Linked DNA regions of Homo sapiens: region 1 is linked to region 2. The links are contacts of gene promoters, found by promoter capture Hi-C in human tissues and cell types (Jung and others, 2019). All regions are on one chromosome and are shown on one strand. The core of a region is centred on a gene start or on the middle of the fragment in contact, and the rest is flanking DNA. Distances in the headings are between cores, read along the strand shown.

Evidence for each region. Contacts are between HindIII fragments. The study calls those that stand out against the background at their distance.
Region 1: a contact is called between the fragment with the promoter of CTBP2 here and the fragment with the promoter of FAM53B in region 2, in 1 of the 25 tissues and cell types used here (hippocampus).

The regions. Positions count from the first base shown.
Region 1 is chr10:125,157,104-125,162,590 of GRCh38, reverse strand. It overlaps CTBP2 (C-terminal binding protein 2), which reads left to right and starts at 2,028. Exons shown (of 11, transcript NM_001329.4): 1 at 2,028-2,272. RefSeq lists an enhancer at 648-1,257. The HindIII fragment of the contact is 19,174 bases long and covers 1-5,487 here.
Region 2 is chr10:124,740,423-124,745,776 of GRCh38, reverse strand. It overlaps FAM53B (family with sequence similarity 53 member B), which reads left to right and starts at 1,399. Exons shown (of 5, transcript NM_014661.4): 1 at 1,399-1,764. RefSeq lists silencers at 1,161-1,300, 1,431-1,480, 1,501-1,610, 1,661-1,820, 2,141-2,350 and 1 more and an enhancer at 4,398-4,517. The HindIII fragment of the contact is 11,231 bases long and covers 1-5,354 here.

The DNA of each region.
Region 1 (5,487 bases), core at 779-3,278, 420 kb before region 2:
GCCCTCACAGGTAGGCGGTCTTCAATCACGTTTTAAAATCTTGTTGAGTGATTAAGCAATCTTCGATAGTCCCGGCCCCTCCACTGCAGGCCGCTCAGGCCGCAACGCACCTGGTGCGCTTTGGCAAACAAGCCCCGCGGCGGGCTGGGGCAGGATTTAAGAAATGTTTAATGAAGACTGGGAGGCCTGGAGCAACGCTCTTTGGGATGCAGAAAAGGGTCGTGCAGCTCGGTGGCCTCTCCTCCGGCCCCCTGGCCCTGGCTGTAAGTTTCCTCGGCTCTGCAGGGCGCGGGGCACTCAGGGATGGAGGAGACCACACCGCGCGGCTGGGTTCGCGGAATGGCGGTCCCTGCGGCCTCCAAAGGCGGGACCTCAGACCCCTCCCACTCCTTTCCTGCTCGACATCTCAATCCAGCTCCTAATATCTCAATAGGGTTTTTAAACAAATCGATCCTAAGGGCTCAGTTCAGCCCACCCAGGGATTCTTGGAGGACGCACGCCGAACTCAGGGTAGTGAGAAGAGTTTGGGGGGCCCTGGGGCGCAGGGAGAAGACCCCACACTCCACGGCCACCAGCTCCCTTCCGGAGACGGCGCTCGGACGTCGCGGGTCACGGGCGGGGAATTTAGCCCAGGTGCTCGTTGGGCCGCGAGCGGCCGCTGGGCCTGGATTCCCAGGCTCGCTGTGCAGACTCCAACCTTGAGACGTCAGGACGGCGTGGGCTCCGGGCCGCCGCGCAAGCCCAGGACCCCGAGTCGCGGGCCCCCACGCCGCAGCGCGCCTCCCTCCTCGAGACCCGGGGCTCCGACCCAACACAGGGCTTCTCAAATGCCCCGGCGAGATCCAGGCAGCAAGAGGGAACCTTTTTTTTTTTTTTCAATGTGTAAGAATGTTTTGCTTCTTTTAGGGCACAGCACTGCTGCAACTTGCAGCACAGAGGGCCCTTCCCTGCGCACCCACAGCGGTCGCCGCCTCTCCGGCACGGTCTCCCGGATCTGGATTTGGGGAGCGCAAGTGCCCCCTGTGGCCGGCCCGCGCCTGACCCCGCGGGCCTGAGAAGGCAGAAGCGGCCGGTGCGGGGCACCAGGAGGAAGTTGGAGCCCGGGGGCCGGGAAGGGGGCTGGTTGGCGCCGCTGGCTGGGCGGGGCCCCATGGGACCGGGGCCACCCGGGGCTCGCGTTCCCCCACGTGGCCGGCTGCCCGGTACCCCACGTGGAAGGGGCGGAGGAGGATGAAGGGCCAGGGGAGCAGCGGACCCCGAGCCACCGCGACAGGACCTCGGCCCCTGCCACCGAGGCCCCCGCGCCTCCCGAGGGCCTCCCGGGCGGGGCCGGGCTAGGGAGTGCCCGCCGCGCCCGGCCCCTGGCCCTCCCGCCCGCCGCGCTTGTGTGCACTTTCGCGGAGCCACTAATCCCCCGAGAGAGCCGATTTGTAGTGAGGAGTATCTGAAGGGGGCGAGGCCGGCCCATGTGGGGTTGTGTCATTGGTTTGCAAAAAGAGACCCCGCCTTTGCCCCCCCCCCCCAAAAACAGGAGCGAGGAGTGAGCGAGCGGCGACCCTCACCTCGCCTCCCGCCTAGCTCCTGCGCAGCCAGCGGGTACCGGGAGCTGCGGCCAGCGCCGCTTCTTTCCTTTCCTTTTCTCTCCGTTTTCCTTCTCCTTCCCCGGAGGAGAAAACAAATAAAGAAGAGCAAATAGCCGGGAGGCGCTCGGCATCCAGGACGTTCCCTCCCCCGATCCAAGTTGGAATTAGCATCCTCTCGGGGGTGAGCGCGGCGCGGGGCGGGCCCGGGCCGGGGACCCCCAGCGCAGCCCCCTCTCGGCGGGCGGGAGGGCGCGGGGCCGGGACGCGGGGGGAATTGGGAACCGGGTGGGCGGAGGAAGGGGGTGGGGTGGGTGGGGAAGTAGGAAGAGGCTCGGCGGCGAGGGGAGGAGGTGGAAGGGAAGGGAGGGGTAGGGTGGGGAGGGGAGGGGAGCGGAGGGAGGGTGGGGAGGGCGGGAGGGGGAGGGGCGGGGAGCTGGAGAGATTAAGTTTTTGTGTGTGTGTCCCTGTGTGCGTGTGTCATTTTAAGGTGGCTCGGGAGCGGCCCGGAGGAGCCGGCGGCGGCCCGAGGAGCGAGGGACCGAACCGGGAGCCATGCCGCGCTGAGGGGGGGCCGCACAGCCGCCGCCACCGCCACCGCCGCCGGGTGGGGTGGGAGGGGCGGGAGACGCCGCCGCCGCCGCCTCCAGGGTGGGCGCCTTTCGCCGTGGACGCCGACCGTCCGGGACGAGGTAAGGGGGGCCCCGGGGGAGGGCTGGGGCCGCCGCCGCCCCCGCCTCACCTGCGGCCGCGGGCTGGGGGCGCCGCGCCCGCGCCTCACTGCGCCACTCAGGGAGGAGGAGGAGGAGGAGGAAGAGGGCGAAGGACGCGGAGCCGGCATCCGAGGACATCTTTGGTCCGTGCCCCCGGCCTCGTGTCCCCCCTCGGCGCCCGGGGGTGGACGCTGGCTCGGGGGTCCCCGCCCGCCCCCGCCACCGATTGCGCCCGCTGGCCGCCGTTTGCGCCAGGATTTTTGTTGTTGTGATGAGAGTTGATGAATGCGAAGTAGGCGGTCACCTTCCTTCCCATCAGGGTTGAAAAAAAAAAAAAAAGAAACCCCGAGCGCGGCGGCGTCCGGAGGGCAGCGGCGGCGGCGGCGGCGGCGTCTCGGCGACGGTTCCCTGGGCGCCCCCGGCTCCTGCTCCCTGAGCCCGGTGGGTGCGCGCCCGGGGGCCGCCGGCGACCCAGGCCGAGCGCGCGACGCGCCGCGGGGACAATACGGCCGGATCTCCGGGGAACAGGAGTCCGAGCGCGCCGGGGTGCGGCGGGCCTTGCGCCTACGAGGCGAGGGTGGGGGGGGCGCGGAGAAGAGGGGTTCCGTGGGGAAGTCGGGGCGTGAGCGGCTCTCGGTCCCCAGGGGCGCTGCCCCTGCCGGCGGGGGATCCCGCGCGGCTCCCCGGGAGCGCAAGTGAAAGACGGGAAAGGAGGCGAAGTGGAACCCTTTTGTTTTGCCGGCCCCGCATTGTTGGCTCCTCCGGGCAGCCGGGCCACATCTGCTGCCGCTGCCGCCGCCGCCACTGCCGCGCGGGGCTCGGCCCGCCAAAGTCGCGGCGGGGCGGGGGGCCTGGGCGGGCCGGGCGGCGGGCGCGGGCGGGGGCCGGGCGGGCCGGGCATTTCCTCTGCCCGGCCGCGCTCCCGCGGGCACCACTTCCTCCTCGCCCGCCGCCGCCGGGAGCCCGGCCCGCCCGCCTCCCCCACCTTCCCCGCCCGGGCCGCACTTTTCGGGTGGGGCGAATCAAAAAGAAAAAGTTTAGCAGGAGGGGCTGGCTAGGGCGCGCCCCGGGCGGCAGGGACCCGGTGCGGCGCAGGGACAGCCGGGCCGCCGCGGTTCCTCCTCCTCCCAGCCCTCCGCGGCGCCGGACGGCCCCGCGCGGCCGAGGGGAAGCGCCTTTCTTTCTCTCCCTCGCGCTGCCCCCAGCGCCCCGGGCGAGTTGGGCAGAGGCGCGCGGGAGCCGGGGCGTGCCTGGGCCTTTCTCCCGCGGGAGGCCCAGCGGCGTGGCGGGTCGCCTGCAGCCCACGCCGCGCCCTGGGGCTCGGAGGCCGCGGGCCCAAGAGCTCAGCTCGGTCACCGCGGGCCGCGCCGAGACACACACGCGCGCACACACTCCCTCCCGTGGCTCGCTTTCCGCCGGCGACGACGGTCGCGGACACGGAGTGAGCGTGTGCGCGCGAGTGTTTGTGGTTGTCCCCCCTCCCCCCGCCCGGTACTTTTTCCGGAGGCGGCCCAAGCGGCAGTTGGCTGCAGAGGACCCCACGTTTAGGATTTTATAGGGAAGAGGAGGAATTTTTCGTAGAAATCCCCGCTCTGCGTGCTCGTGGTGGAGGCTGCTGGCAATGGCCTACGTCGTCATACCGGGCTTCCTTGCCCTGTCCGGGGTAAACAATCCTTCTGTGTATTTACCCCCTTTTTTCTTTAAAGATTGGAGATCGGGTTAAGTTCTTAGAGAGTCTGATGCGAGTGGCTGGAAGGATAGACAAGAGAATTCTATTCTATAAATATGCATTGGGAATTTAAAATGCTAAACGCCTTATTTGCAATTCTGTTGGATATTCTAGAGACTGGTATATTTTTATCTGACATGGATAATTTTGAGGGGACGTTATATTTTGGGGAAGTTTACAAAGTGATTCTTTCTGCCTTTCTAACTTGGGCGAAATATATCGACTCATACCACCCTTTCAAAAAAGATAGCTTTCTCTACTAGGTGTTTGGGTTCGAAGACAGTTTAAAAATTACCTCGTGTTCAGTACCTAAGATTGCTGTTTTGCCTCGAGGGTTTTCCAAGTAGAAGTGGGTAGTTTTCATGTACTTTGAGAATTCTGAGGTTTTTAACCCCCCCCTTTTTTTTTAAATATAAATCTTTTCTATTTTGAAGTAATGAGACTTTAAAGGATCTTGTTTTTGTAATCACTTGATTTCAAAGGATACTTCTTACAGCAATTATAAAGTAATAGTCAAAATGCTAATTAGACATTTTCAGTCATAGCTGCTTTAATGTTGAAACAGAATTTTTTTCTTTAGCAGAGACTGTATCGTAGAGTTGAAACGCTAAATATTCTTTTGTCTGGCATCAGATCTCTGAACTGCTCTGACATTCTCCTGAAAAACCCCTAGTGCCCTTTTTATTGCCCCCAAAAGAAAAGTTAATGAGATGGTAGATTTCAAGCAAAAAAACAGGCCCTCTTTCTTGCAAAATATGCTTACAGTTGCCATTGAAGTTGGATGTTAGCCGTGAATGCACTTGCCTTTAATGAAACCAGTTTAATCGTTCACACTTGATCAAGTATAACATGAGCAAACAAAGGAAATAAGCCAGCATATTTCTGTAGAGTGTAAGTGTTGATGTTGGGTCACCCCCTCCCCCTACCCTGCCCCCCTGTAAAAGGGAGAGAGGGTTGAAGGCAAAGGGAATTTATGGCGCTGATTGGTTTTTTGTGCCCCAGGGGTAGGGGACCCCAGTTACATCCCTGTGGAAAGCAGTTATTAGAGGGAATTAAAAGATCTTGGGTTTGGAGCTTGTTTTGAACCTGACTAGGTGGTTTGGGTTTAATTCTTTTTCCTGTTCAGAAAGATAAGGTAAAGAATACCGACTCCCCCCCGCTCTTTTTTTTTTTTTAACCCCCACCTGACAACCCCCTCTCTAATTGTACCTTAATAAGAGTCTGCAGGTTGAATGCAGAACCCTGTGAGTTATTTACGGTTTCGCCTGGGAGCTTTGAAACTGACCCTTGAATGGGTGTTCTCCTGCGGGGAGGGGCAGGGTGAATTACCTTTTCTTAACTGATTTTAAAAAGCCTCATTGTCCCTAAAAATCATTTCCTTGCACGAGTTGCAATTTATGTGTGGAACTGAATCATCAATTCCGTGAAGAGAAAGATATTCGTAAAGTACATCTCTCTAAAGTTA
Region 2 (5,354 bases), core at 150-2,649:
GTAAATTAAACTCTGTCCTTAAAGCTCTGAAAGGCTGAGGTGATTGTGTGATATCAGATGGCTTTAGGGAAACACTGACTCTTTTCGTTAAGCATAGCAGCATTCTTAGATTATTCCTTGGGCCTTCTTTTGTTCACCATCGGTTCTTGGATCTTGTTCCTTTCAAGATTGGTCCTTAATGCATTTTTAAAAAGCAACGTATATGGGTAAGGATATCAATATCTTAGTATGCTGTATTCTGTATGTTAGCTCATTTTGGCTTTCTAGGATGAACTGACTCTATCCCACATCATGTAACTTGAAATGAATAGACTCATATCCTTTCCACTGATTGCTGTCCATTCTAATCATGCAGCAGAACTCAGTGGAGCGAGCTGTAGTGTGAAAGGAGATGTCAGTTCATGCTTTTCTGAAAAGAATGGGTCCGGTGTGATGATATTCTGAAATATTTCAGCAATAGCCATGAAATATAATAGTTTCCCAAGCACACAAAGCTCAAGAAGTTAATTGTTCATTTATGTTTGATACTGGGATTGAAACATTGGATTAAAACCAATTAAATGTTCCTAGAAGCAACAGAAAAAGTTTCCTTATTTATGAATAGAACCATTCAAATGGCGCAGACACAATCCATGTAAAGTAATGAGGTGTTTTGTTTTTTTGGCAAAGGAGAACACAAAACAGGCATAGGGAGTTTTAAAAAAACTTCTCTTTAAAAATCGCTTTTTGGATACAAGGTCAATAAAATAACATACACCAGTAGGAAGGAGTAATGGGAAATCTAGGGCTTCACAAGGAAAACAATCCCCCTCCCCCAGGTGAGCAGCACAATGAAAATACTCTGCTTATTCTATCAGGGTTACATTCCTGAACTTAAGTCAACATCCTAAGTTACAGAACTAAACATGCTCTGCCTCTGCTTAGCAACCACAAATCCTTCCTTCGCCAGTTGCATGTATTTTGGATGTGGCTTCTGAAGTACACAGTCACAGCGCCCCGAGTTAGGAAATTTGCGCTTTATTTTCCCAAAGTGTGACAACACTTTAAGGTCCCCCCTCCCCGACCCCACCCGCCCGCTGTCCTGCACGCCACTGAAGTGATCGTTTCTTTTGAACCTCGGCATCTAACAACCCGGAAGCTGGACGCCTGAAGCCTATGCGGCCCAGCGTTTTCATCCCGGCTCGTGCTGGGGGCGGGGAGAGAAGCCCGTAGGGCCTCTGGCGCGGGGCCCGGGCAGCCGCGGTGGCGCGGCCCAGGCCCGGGGCCACTTCCCGCGTCCCGGGGCCTCGCAGGCGCGAGCGCGGCGAGCGGCGCGCGGCTGAGCCCGCAGGACGCCCTCTAGCCCCGCCGGCGGCGCGCCGCGAGTCCCTCACTCCCCGCCCATCGGCGGCTGCGCGCACTGCACACTCGCCTGCCGCCGCCGCCGCACGCCGCCTGCCTCCTGCACGCCGCCGCCGCGCCTAGCGCCCGGGCCCGCGACACCGCCCGCTAAGCGCCGGGCCGAGTTCACGCAGCCGCGGTCTGGCGGCTCCGCGGCGGCGGCGGGTGCGGGCGGCCTGGCCGGTGCCGGTTAAAGGGACGAGTTGCAAACACTTCAGGAAGTGACAAGTCGATTTCCTCCTCCCCGGGAGTCGCTCGTACAAAGCGCTCGGCGCCGGCAGGCGAGCGTGCGCGCGGCGGACGCGCGGCGGGCACCCCGGACGACTTGGCGAGCGCTGGCGGTGACGGCGCGGGGTCCGCGCCCGGAGCGCCCCGCCGCGCACAGTAAGCGACCCGGGGCCGGGCGGCGGCGGCGGTGGCCGGGGGGCTGGCCCCGAGCGAGGTCCGGGCCGTGTGCGTCCCGGCCGCTGGCTGGAGGGAGCCCGGCTCGCGTGCGCAATGGGCTTGCCTTTTTTTTTTCTTTTTTCCTAATGTTGCTGGTTTCCTTTTTTTCTGCCTTGTTTCGCCTTTGGGTTGGGTCGGGCGGTTTCTCCGGGCGCTCGGTCTCGCCCCTGATGCAGGCGTGAGACTTGTCAGAGCACAGGCATGGGGAAGAACAAGCCTGGCTGCGGCGGAAAAGTCTGCGCTCCCCAGGCCAGGGCGGGCGGGCGCGGGGACTGCTGCGCCCGGGGGTGTCCTCTCCGCGTCTCAACTTGAGCCCTGACTAGCCGCTGCGGAGGAGGCGCGGAGTCTCGGGAGCCGGGCGGCCCCATTCGCCCCGAAGTTCCCGCATCGTTTGCAGACAACTCTTTTGTTCGCGGAAGTTTGCACCCGCCACCCCCGGGGTGCGGGAGCGAGGCGGCGGGCTCCGCTGCTGCTGGACTGTCCGGGGCGGTCAGGATGGGGGTGAGGGGGCATTCTGTCCCGGGCGGGGGAAGCCCGCGGGGAGGCCACCGCTGGGGCTTGCGGAGTGGGGGCGTCCGCGCCGGCGTGGCTTTTGCACATGGCGAGAAGGGCCGTCCGGCACAGGCACACTGGTCGAGTCACATTTTTGCTAGTCTTGGATTTTGCAAGCCCGTGGGAGTCAGGTTCCCCGCTCAGGGTTTCTCTTGGGGCAGAGACGAAAGAAACGAGGACACCCAGAATCCGGGGAGGGTTTGCGGTTTGTGTTGTCCCAAGTGTGTTCTCGCTCCCCCCGCCCCCCCACCTTGTCCCCCAGCCCCCAGCTCTCCACCCCCATTTTCGGACTTGGGGAACAATGCTTGTAGTACGGGCCGGGGCGCCGCAGCAGCGACGAACCGCGCGGACAGGTTTGCCCGGGTCCCTCGCGTTCGGACGCCCCCTGAAGCCGAGCTCCTTCCATCTGACCGCCCGGGCTCATTAACACGTACTGTACTTAGGACGATGGTGAACAAAGAAAAGCTCTTTGCAGCGTTTGATGAATGGGATTCTGCCTCCTATAGGCCACACTCCGAGTCTTCCATACGGTACAATCTCCGGACTCGGTGGTGTTAGGAAAGTGGCCCCCGGAATGGCTTGCATTCCGGGTCTGGGATCCTGGGGTGGGCATTTGTGCCGTCGCCTTCGCCGCCGCGCTCGCCTTGCAGGAGCGGGTGCAGATGGAGCCAGGCTGACGGTTGTTCAACAGGAACAAATGTTTGTTCAATTGTTGGATGGTGGAGAAAAGGGACTGTTTCCTATTGACTGCTGCAGGAGTTGGAATGGCATTGTTTATTGGCCTGGGAAGCCAGGCAAGCGTCTTGTGCTGCTTACAACATATTAGCAGACTTCCAAATGACATGCTAGCATATGTGTTCCCAGCAGTCCCCACCGGCTGGCAGGGAGATTCCTCCTTGCTCCAGATCCTGGACTCGTTTAAAAGATGCCACCTGGTTTGAGGACTTGGGAAGGAATGGAGTCAGCCGACCAGGTGAAACTCACTGTTCCTTATTAGGCCAGGTTTTTGTTTCATTTTAATTTATCTATTTAAGAGTAACTTGTGTCAGTTACAGTTTTGATATTGAATTGCAGGTCTACAGGGTCCCCTCCCCCGCCTCTAGCTGTGGACTACAGAAACAGCTACTTGTCCCAGTTGATAGTCCCATTCAGTGGGAGAAGGTTTGGCTCAGGATTGGTAGCCCTTGACTCTGTGTCTGCACTTGGCTGTCACCCATCATGCGACCTGGGAGTCTGCCGATCCAGCTTCCAGGCGCTTTTTCAGGTTAAAAAGCTAAGGAGAGGCGTGGGGAAGGCCTGTATTTTTTTCTTCCAAACGTTCCTTCAGAGAACGAGGCGATTTAAATTCAAATAATGTTGCCCAACGACTTCCTATTTTCTTCTGAGAAGGTGAGATTCATGTGCAGTCATTTTGATATCAAAGACAAGTTTTTAAATAGAAACTAGCAACCTCACTGCTGCAGAAGTGGACTTGAATGTTCCAGTCTTCTCAGGACAAAGTAGAGAGCATTCCACTGTCTTGGTTCATAATGTTTTAAATCAGTTTCCCTCTTCTCTTTTCAACGTGGGGTATGTTGCACATAGCATTTTGAAAGTACGCAAAGTTCTTTTGGAAAGAGCTTTATGATACCTTATTGTCACCGTGGTGGTTACGCTTAATTGACATTTTATGGGAAGTCCTGGTATTATTTCCTGGGCTCTTTCTGTTTCCATCTTTTAGTCTTTCTCTTTCCCCTTATATATTCTCTCACTGCCCCGCTAGCCTCTCCATCCTCTCTACAGAAGCCTAGTGGGCTTGGGTTCCTTTAAGCGGGTCCAGTGAGCAGGCGCCTGACCCTTGATTGAAGCTCAGGAAGGGCCAGCCTGCTCTCCTCCCCTTTTGGAGGCCAGAGAGGAGAGAGCTGTGTTTAAATATTAGGAGCTGGCAGCAGGGGACGCTGCGGAGCTCTTTTAAAAAGCACACTCTTCTCACCCACCGCTCGATGCCTTGGGCCCTGAAGACTGAGTTCTGGGCCCACCTTCAGATTGTTCAGTTGATGTTTTATTTGGGCAGCGTGACTTTCTGCAGTTAAATTGCGCATTGTATGGAAAACTCTTCTGTTCTTGTCCTTAAATAAAAAGACTGAAATAAGCAAATACTCAGATCGGCACAACCCCCATCATTACCACCACCACGCACACCTCTCTGATGTGTAATAAAAGAAACCTGCAGGCATAATTTGTTATGTAATATGCTGATAATACAAGTTTCGGTTTTCGATGGAAACCAGATGTGGAGGGACTCTCTTTAATTGATCCAGCAAGGGGAAGACTAATAGATGAACTAGTCCTTGCAAACCCCAGTGGTGTTTTGATTTAACTTTAGGGGAGAATCCCGAGCTCAGGGCTTTGGAGAGGTTTTTACCCTCAGCTTCTGCTTTGCTGCAGCTGTCCTTTTTGTCAGACTCTTCCTCTTTTGAAAGAACCGGTTCGTTGCCAACACAAAGCACATGGCCGGAGCTGGCGGGGCTCAGCGAAGCTTAGCTCTGCTGGACTCTCCTCCTCCTTGCCTCGTCCGGCTGCTACCCTCCCCTCCACGCCACAAAACAGGGTCTGGCCAGGGGACTTGGGTGCTGGGAGGAGTGTTGATTGTTCTCCCTCAACTCCTTTCTGAAATGTCAGTCTGATCATCCAGGGAGAGTTTCTGTTTAAACTTGTCCAACGGATACACTTTCCAAAAATCATTGACTCTCTTTCTCTGATTAATTTGTTTGTTTCCTGCCTAAGTTTGAGGGTTTTTTCTGGATGGCTGAGTCACCTTTATTATGGCTCAAGGTTGGGGACGGCACTGTAATAGCTGACCCCATTAACAGCAGTTTCATTGCCTGCCTGGATGTGAACTTTGGAAACAAACCCAGAGGCTTAGATATGCTGATGTACCCTGAGACTTGCTTAGAAAATTTTTGTTGTAGCGCAGTTTACATTAACATGATTAATGA